3 separate regions of the Homo sapiens genome follow, and all the other regions are linked to region 1. Evidence: promoter capture Hi-C in 16 types of primary human blood cells and fetal thymus (Javierre and others, 2016). All regions are on one chromosome and are shown on one strand. Each heading gives the region's core, a stretch centred on a gene start or on the middle of the fragment in contact. The rest is flanking DNA. Distances are from core to core; before and after follow the strand shown. Region 1 holds the start of C19orf81 (chromosome 19 open reading frame 81). Region 2 holds the start of KLK2 (kallikrein related peptidase 2). Region 3 holds the start of KLK1 (kallikrein 1).

Region 1 (2,756 bases), core at 125-2,624:
GGCAGAGAAACAACGCCTGTTTTGCCATCAGGGCATTTGTTCGGCCTCGAAGGCTGAGGTGGGAGGATCACTTGAGCCAGGAGCTCAAGGCTGCAGTGAGTTTTGGTTTTGGGTGTTTTTGTTTGTTTGTTTGTTTGTTTTGTTTTTTGAGACAGAGTCTCCCTCCATCACCCAGGCTGGAGTGCAGTGGCACAATCTTGGCTCGCTGCAGCCTCTGCCTCCTGGGTTCAAGCGATTCTCCTGCCTCAGCCTCCCTAGTAACTGGGATTACAGGCACCCGGCACCACACCTGGCTAATTTTTGTATTTTTAGAGATGGGGTTTCACCATGTTGGCCAGGCTGGCTGGCCTTGAACTCCTGACCTCAGGTGATCCACTCACCTCGGCCTCCAAAGTGCTGGGATTATAGGCGTGAGCCACCACACCCAGTCCTGAGTTTGGTTTTCTATTACCTGCAGTTACATGCATCCTCACTGAGATACTACTCCATAAATGTTGAATGAGTGTAACTGCATGAGCTGTGCTACAGCACAGAGTGCTAGCAGGAAGTGCTGGGCTAGGAGCCTGAAGTTGTCAGCAGGGGTCAGACCACACAGGGCCTCAAAAGCCAGGCTGGAGCTTTGGGTCTCTGTCCTAGAGGTGACAGGAAGCTAGGAAGTGTTATGAGCAAGGGACAGCCAGGATCACTGCAGGAAGTCAGAGAGACCTCTCTGGAGCCATGGAGGGATAGGTAGGAGGAGAGAAACTGGGGACCAGGGAGGAGGTGAGGAGAGGGTCCACATGGAAGAGGATGAGACCTGGGACAGGGCTGCGGGGACAGAGAGGAAGGAATGGGGAAGGGAGAGTCAGAGGGCAGGAAGATAGGGCCTGATGGGCTGTGGGAGGGAATTGTGGGAGGTGGAAGGATGGCACCAGTGACTGGGTTGGCGGTGGGGCCATTTGAAAATGGAAACCAGGAAGGAGGAGAGCAGCTTTGGGGGAAGATGCTGAGCTCAGGGTGGGAGACAAGACAGTGAGGTTACCTAGGAGAAGAATGGCCTCAGAGGTGTTGCTTAGGCCCCAGAGGCTCATGGGAAATGTAGTTCTGAGTCCAGGGCATTGGCCAAGGAACTGCAGAGGCTCATGGGAAATGTAGTTTGAGGTCCAAGGGGGCCGCTCTCCAGGAATCTGGTGAATCCAGGAATGCTAGGGATGGCTTTCACTTTGGAGTGCCAGTGACTCGCTTAAGGCCACACTGTGAGCCCGGGCTACTACGCACTGCCTGGATGGAGGAAGTCCACCCCTTCCCCCAAAGACACAGCTCAGTACCTGCCTTCCTGTGCATGGTGGGGCTGCCCATGGCAGGGAAGCACACGGGCTCCACCTCTGGCTGCATCCTGGGAAGGTGGGTGAGGGATGTCTCAGGAAGGTGGCAAGAGAGGCTCTGCCTGGGCCACCCACCCCAGCTCCTTCTCCCCACCGCTGCCTCCTCTACCTCCTCTTTGAAGCCCCGGGGTAGAATTACAGAGGAACTGGAAGGCTGAGACCATGTGGAGATCTGGGTTCCCCTGACCTCAGGGACTCCCTGTGTGCCCCAATCCCTTCTTTCCCATTTCCCTGTTTTTCCTCCTATCTCTCTCTGTCTCCTAGAGTCCCTTTCCCCACCCCTCTCTCTCCACCTCCCTTCCTCATTCTCTCCCCATCTCTCTGCCCCCCTGCCTCCTCCCCTCTGTCCCCACGTCTCCACCACTCTTTTGCTTGATTTCTCTGCCCTCCTCCTCCCTCCTTCTCTCCTGGGCTCCATCTCTTCAGTCTCCATCAGTTTCCCCAGCATCTCCCCAGGCCCCCGTCCCTCCTTGTCTTCATCGTTTTCTGCCTCTCCCTAACCCCGTCACCCTCTCTCTGTCTTCCCACCTCTCACCAGTCTCCTTGCCCCATCTCTATCCTCTCCTAGCTGCCTCCACTGCCCCCTTGAGGCCCCCTCCCCTCTGTCATCCCCTTTCTGTTCCCACTTGCCCTCTGCTCATCCCTGCCCCAGCCAGGAACTGGTTAGAAACAGGCGAGATTCCAACGAAAGTGGGTTCTCTAGTGGGGAGGGGATGGTGGGCAGGGGGCCTGGTTGCCATGGTGCCTCCAGAGGGAGGGGGAGGGGTGGGGGCCTGGATTCCTGGGTCTGAGGGAGGAGGGCCTGGGGTCTGGACTCCTGGGTCTGAGGGAGGAGAGGATGGGGGCCTGGACTTCTGGGTCTGGGGTCTCACGGGGCCTCTCGTGCTAGAGAGAAGGGGTCTAGCCGTGTAGGTGCCTGTTCAGCATCCCTTTCTCTGGGTCTGCAGAGCTCTCTGCAGGAATTGTGGGAGAGGAAGCTGGACCTTCGCTTATTTGTTTTGTCTGTCCTTGCAGTCTTTGTCTCTGTTACTTGTATCTCTTTCTCTTCCTCTTTCTCCACATCCAGATGGTCTCTGGACTGTCTGTTGTTCCTGCTTACTAAGTATTCGTTCTAGGTGGTGGCACCTTGATTTCCTCAGTGATTTGTTCAGTGGCGAGCTTAAGAATCAATCTAGGCTACAAAGTCAACCTTTGGACTTTTGCTGGACCTGTTAGAAAACAGGGTTTTTCCCCTGTGGTTTTGGGGCTGGTCAGAGCCAGGGTTGGAGCTCTCGGTGCTACCACATCACCATGCAGGGAGATAACTTGCCTGAGAGCAAAGACAACACGAGGGAAGCATAGCCCAAAGATACAGACAGTTGGATTCCTGGAGATGATTGGAACACCTGGATC
Region 2 (2,756 bases), core at 79-2,578, 220 kb before region 1:
CACTCCCAGCCTCCCACAATCCGAGACTGGATGAGGGGCACGGCACCTGCGGAGGGGGTGCTGGGTCAGGGGGATCAGACCCAAAAGAATTGGATAGGGGAGGGAGCTGAGCTGTGGGTTTGAAGAGACATGGGGGCAGAGGACCAGGACTGGGAGTCCAGGACACAAGCAAGGGGTCCTGGGAGGGCTGGCAATTCTGTAGCTATTCCCTGCGTTAGCGGGTTGGTGGCTGGACCAGGTCGGGAGGCTTCATGCTCTGAGAACGGAGCTGACCCCAGAGATCAGAGTAGGGGACATGGGAAACATCTGAAGCAGGCATCGGGTTGGGGGTTGGGTCATTTGGAGTGATTTGGGGTCTTACACTGGGAGAAGGGACACTGTGGTGGCAGCTGTGGGTTCTAAGAGAATAAGAGGTTCCAGAAACCAAGGATAAGTGCCCAGTGGAGAGGTTTAGTTGCTGGGAGAGGAAGGTTTTGGATGGTTTACCATGTCCAAGGTTAAGCAAACAGTTCTGCCTGAGTTGTTTCTTGCTTTGTTTTGTTTTGTTTTGTTTTTGAGGTTTTGAAAAGGGTGCGGATTTAGGGAATCAGAGAACTGGCCGTTGTGGTTGGGGGTGCTCGTGTTTTTCCCATGGAAAAAGCTAGCCATTGAATGACGGGTCTGGGGCAAAGAGTCAGGGAAGGAGGAGTTCTGAAAGTCCCAGTGCCAGACTCAGGGTGGGAGGCAGCATTTGTTGTCTCAGGCCAGATAGCCTCGGGGGGAAGAAGGAAGTGTCTGGTGGAATCTGGGTTTCCTGGGACAGGGTTGGGGAGCCAGGTGTCAAGGTCCAGGGGACAGGGTTGAATGCTCACAGCTGAATAGGAAAAGTCAGTAGACTGTGGTAGGACTGAGGGGCTCAGGAGGCAGCCCAGTGATAGGGTCCAAGGAACCAGTGGCATGGAGAGAGGTCCTTGAAAGGTTTTGAACCCCATAAAGAGAAACACAGAGATGCCCAGGAACTTGCTCTTTAGTAAAGCAGCTGGGAGCAGGGATTTGGCTGGGCAATGGAGAGAAAGGTCTGAGGTAAGTGGGAGGGAGCGGGGACCTAGTGTGGGCATGAGGACTATTGCAATGTGGAAGAGTCAGGGGCACATTGTCTGGGCTGAACTGTGGGCTGAAGGGACGAGGCTGGGGCACTGGGTGGGAGGAAAAGGGCTTCAGCATAAGAGTCAGAACCCGCCCCCCTTCCTTTATCCCCCCAATCTCACCAGTGCACCCCACAGACAAGGCGATGGAGAGAACCAGGTCCCACATGCTGACACAGGTGTCCACGGCCAGGTGGTGAGTTTGGGGCTGGGGGGCCTCCCTGAGGAGCCCTATAAAGCCTTCATTCTCCAGGACCCCGCCCTTGCCCTGTTGGCACCTAGATGCTGACCAAGGCCCTCCCCATGCTGCTGGAGGCTGGACAACCCCCTCCCACACCCAGAGCTGTGGAAGGGGAGGGAGAGCCAGCACTTGCTGTTCCACACATACTAGATCAGTCTGGAGGCATTCCCACGGTGTGAGGTCAGATTGGGCAGGGCCTATGGATCATGGAGATGTGATCTAGGGAACAAAGCCAGAGAAGGCAGGCTCAGGATGAACAGCAACAGGGGTTGGGATGATCACTGATTCTTTTTTAAAAAAATTCTGAGACAGTCTCACTCTGTTTCCCAGGCTGGAGTGCAGCGGCGTGATCGCAGCTCCCTGTAGCCTTGAACTCCCAGACTCAACCGATTCTCCTGTCTCAGCCTCCAGGATAGCTGAGACCACAAGCATGCACCACCACATCCAGCTAATTTTTAATTTTTTTGTAGAGAGAGGGTCTGGCTATGTTGCCTAGGCTGGTCTCCAACTCCTGGGCTCAAGCCATCCTCCCACTTCGGTCTCCCAAAGTGATGAGATTACAGGCGTGAGCCACCACGGCCAGCCCCAATCATTGATTTTCAATACAAAGTCTCATGTGCCTAAGTCCCAAGTACTTCCTTTGCACCCCAAACCTAATATGCCCTGAAATATCAGAATGATCGGATTGTGAGACTTCCTGGTCCCTATACCCGTCTGAGCCCAGAAGCTGGACCTCCAACTTACCATGTTCCTGAAATAGAAGCGTTGGCATTCAGTACTCTCTGATTCTTGCACTTCCACACTCAGAAAATGGTTCCCCACATACATTTCTCCCTCATCATAAAACCTTGTGATACCACATATTGTCCAATCCAGAAATATGACTCTCCCAGACCAAGTTCCCTATTATTTCAAAATCCAATGTCCACTAAACAATATGGGGTTCCGGTGGCTCCTCACTCCTCATTCTCCATGCCTGTACAACGTACAGGTACAGCGGGGATTCCTGTTGACCTGCCCTCCTAGGTCAGAATTGTCCTCATGCAAAATCCAATGCCTCCTTCTCACTGAAATGTCTAGCTATCAGGAGCCAGGTTTATACACTCCAAGATTAAGCTGCAAGCCAGGCACGGTGAGTGGCTCATGCCAGCAATCCCAGTGCTTTGGGAGTCCAAGGCTGAAGAATCACTTGAAGTCAGAAGTTCAAGATCAGCCAGGGCAACAAAGTGAGACCCTTTCTCTACAAAAAAAAAAAAAAAATTTAATTAGCCAGGTGTGGTGGCAAGCACCTGTAGCCCCATCTACTCAGGAGGCTGAAGCAGGAGGATCCCTTAAGTCCAGGAGGTCAAGGGTTCAGTGAGCTATGATCACACCACTGCGCTCCAGCCTGA
Region 3 (2,756 bases), core at 85-2,584, 170 kb before region 1:
CAAGACCAGCCTGGCCAACATGGTGAAACCCCATCTCTACTAAAAATACTAAAAAAATTTAGCCGGGCGTGGTGGCACACGACTGTAATCCTAGCTACTTGGGAGGGTGATGTGGGAGGATCGCTTGAACTTAGGAGGCAGGAGTTGCAGTGAGCCGAGATCGCGCCACTGCACTCCAGCCTGGTGACAGAGCAAGACTCCATCTCAGAAAAAAAAAAAAAAAAAAAAAGATTTAGTTCTGGGCTTCCTGGTAGCCATGGCAAAAAGGCAAATACTGTCCTTTCCTTAGCCAGGTCCCTGATATACAGCAGAGGCTGGAACTCTGAGCTGCTTTGATTTTACCAAAAAGCCAAGACAACCTGTTGGAAGCCTATGGGTTTACCATTGAGGCTGCAGGAATCTAGTTCCTAATTATCTTCAGAGACCACAAAATGTGATGTTCAAGGTCGCTGAATGTTGAAGTACATGAACCTGGCTCGTGAGACCTAAATATTGTACTGGTGGTGGGGGGGAAGGGTCATTGGAATCTGTGGTTAGCCTGATCTTGACCTGGGAGGGAAGGTTGTCCAGATCTCTGGGACTTTGGAGGACAGGACGTTGAGCACCCATAACTGGGAGCAAGAAGTGGGAGGCTCATTGAGACCCCAGCATTGTTTGGGAGGGACACTGGATTTTGTAATGCTAAAGAACTTACCCTGGGAGACCCCTGAAACTTCACATTCCTGGATCTGGAGGCACTAGGAATGTGGTGATGTGTACCCCAAAATTTTATTATGAAAGGAACAGTAGCTTTGGGGACCTAGGTCCTGGGTCTGGGAGTGCAAGAACCAGGGCATTCTGAAGGCCAAGGCTTATATTTCAGGGGGAACTGGCAGCTGAGATGCTAGTATCTTGGCTCCGAGTGGTGCAGGGAATCAGAGCCCTAACTGCTGGTGTTTGAGGGCACCAGGTCTGGGGGTGCAGGGCCTTAATTGAGACTGAGGTATATGGGGCTTTGTACCAGGGGTCACTGATTCCTCCGTCTTCCTGTTTCTGCTTCCCCTCAGTCCCCCCTTGCCTCACTGGCTGCTCCCCAGAGCAAAGCCCCAGAGCCACAGGCCCTGCCCCACCTGGCTTCAACCCCAGGAATGCGTCCAGCGTGATCCAGGGCCTGCAGAACAGGTGCTGGTTCTCCCTCCCCGTCTACAGCTCTGGGGATCGGAGGGGGGGGGGGCAATTGTCCAGCCCCCAGGCAACAGGGGAAGGGCCTTGGCCAACATCTGGGTGCCAGCAGGGCAGGGGTGGGGCTCTGAGGGGATAAGGGCTTTTAAAAGCCTCCCCAGGGAGGTTCCCCAGTTCCTCCACCTGCTGGCCCCTGGACACCTCTGTCACCATGTGGTTCCTGGTTCTGTGCCTCGCCCTGTCCCTGGGGGGGACTGGTGAGACAGTGGGGGGATGTGGGAGGGGGAACGGGCCCTGATTCTCTTGCTGGCCTCACATCCCCCCCCGATAAGACCTTCCCCTCCAACACCCCACCCTCATCCCTCTGGCCCACAGTCTATCCTAGTCCGGGGTGCCCCGGCTCTTATCTATCTTGCGCGGCCCCACCCTAAACTTCCACCCCCGCTCCTCCATGTTGTCATAGTGCTCACTCCCACACCAGATTCCTGCTCCTCCCAGGAAGCCTCAGTACTTTCTCCTCTTCCCTAGCCAACGCCCTGTCCCACCGCTTTACCAAAGGGGCAGATTCTGGGCCATCTCTGTCTCTCTCTGGAGGACCCCAACCCTCCCATGGGCTTCCCCCACCCCACAGGACTCTGATCATCCCCTCCTGCCCCCTAGTTCCCTGCGGCCACCTATTTGGCTCCTGAGTCTACAAATCCCACCACACTCCAGTGACTTTTTCCATCCAGCTGTCCGCTCTCAACTGTGTCCTCCAGACCCTGACATCTGGTCTCCCCAGTCCTTCCAGGGTCCCCCAAATTTCACCAGAAAACCCTGCTTCCCAAACTGGCATGTGGGATCCCCCATCTGGTATGGGGGGGGGTCTGCAAATGTCCCTTCCCACCCAGCACCCCCAGCTCTCCCAGGAAAAACACCACACCCTCCCACCACATGCTCCTTTCCTTGGGGAAGTTCCATCCCGCCCCAGGCCCCAGCCCTTCTCTGCCTGAATTGTTCCTACACAGCTCTGGTTTTCTGGAACCCCACCCCAAGGATCCTGAATGCCTTCTCAGCCAGCGCTTCTGCCCTGGCCTCCCCCAAGTCAGTATGTGATTCTACAACCTCACGTCAAGTGGGTCCTGCATTGCATTCCCACAGCTGCTTGGCGCCTGTTCTCACCACTTCTCCAATCCTCTTCCTAGGATTGCCTCCAAGAGGACCCCATATCCTTCCAGTACCCTCAGACCATGAACCCCATCCCCATGAGAAACGAAGATCCCATCCTTCACCCTGTCCGAGAAGGACTGCCACTCACGCCTCCCTCCTCCTGAGCCCCGTCCCAGTCCTGACCGCAACTGTGTTCTCAGGGCCCCAACCTCCCCTCAGATTGCCATTCCTGGTTCACAGGAAGGACCCCAAAACCTCTCGGAAGCCCACCTCTAGCCTTAACCATAGCCCTTTCTTTTACCCTTTAACCAGGAAGCCCTGAAATCTAACTGTCCCAGCCAAGCTGGCCCCTTCCAACCCCAATGTAGGGACCCCAAGTCACCCCCAAACTCTTCAGTCCAGATGCTCTTCTTTACCTCTCAGACCTGGTTCCCTAAAGCTGCATC

What was found. Contacts are between HindIII fragments. The CHiCAGO score rates a contact against its expected background, and 5 or more counts as called.
Region 2: the fragment with the promoter of KLK2 here is called in contact with the fragment with the promoter of C19orf81 in region 1 in 16 of 17 cell types (activated CD4 T cells, neutrophils, erythroblasts and 13 more); the score reaches 15.7 in activated CD4 T cells.
Region 3: the fragment with the promoter of KLK1 here is called in contact with the fragment with the promoter of C19orf81 in region 1 in 11 of 17 cell types (neutrophils, erythroblasts, activated CD4 T cells and 8 more); the score reaches 10.6 in neutrophils.

Annotation. Positions count from the first base shown.
Region 1 is chr19:50,648,063-50,650,818 of GRCh38, reverse strand. C19orf81 (chromosome 19 open reading frame 81) reads right to left here and starts at 1,374. Exons shown (of 5, transcript NM_001195076.2): 1 at 1,308-1,374. The coding sequence starts at 1,374. It also overlaps a transcript of SYT3 not described here. RefSeq lists an enhancer at 2,441-2,490. The HindIII fragment of the contact is 10,880 bases long and covers 1-2,756 here.
Region 2 is chr19:50,872,011-50,874,766 of GRCh38, reverse strand. It overlaps KLK2 (kallikrein related peptidase 2), which reads right to left and starts at 1,328. Exons shown (of 5, transcript NM_005551.5): 1 at 1,248-1,328; 2 at 1-46. The coding sequence starts at 1,293. RefSeq lists a cis regulatory region at 1,490-1,504, an enhancer at 1,490-1,504 and promoters at 1,303-1,656, 1,303-1,928, 1,303-2,756. The HindIII fragment of the contact is 10,018 bases long and covers 1-2,756 here.
Region 3 is chr19:50,822,365-50,825,120 of GRCh38, reverse strand. It overlaps KLK1 (kallikrein 1), which reads left to right and starts at 1,334. Exons shown (of 5, transcript NM_002257.4): 1 at 1,334-1,418. The coding sequence starts at 1,373. The HindIII fragment of the contact is 16,614 bases long and covers 1-2,756 here.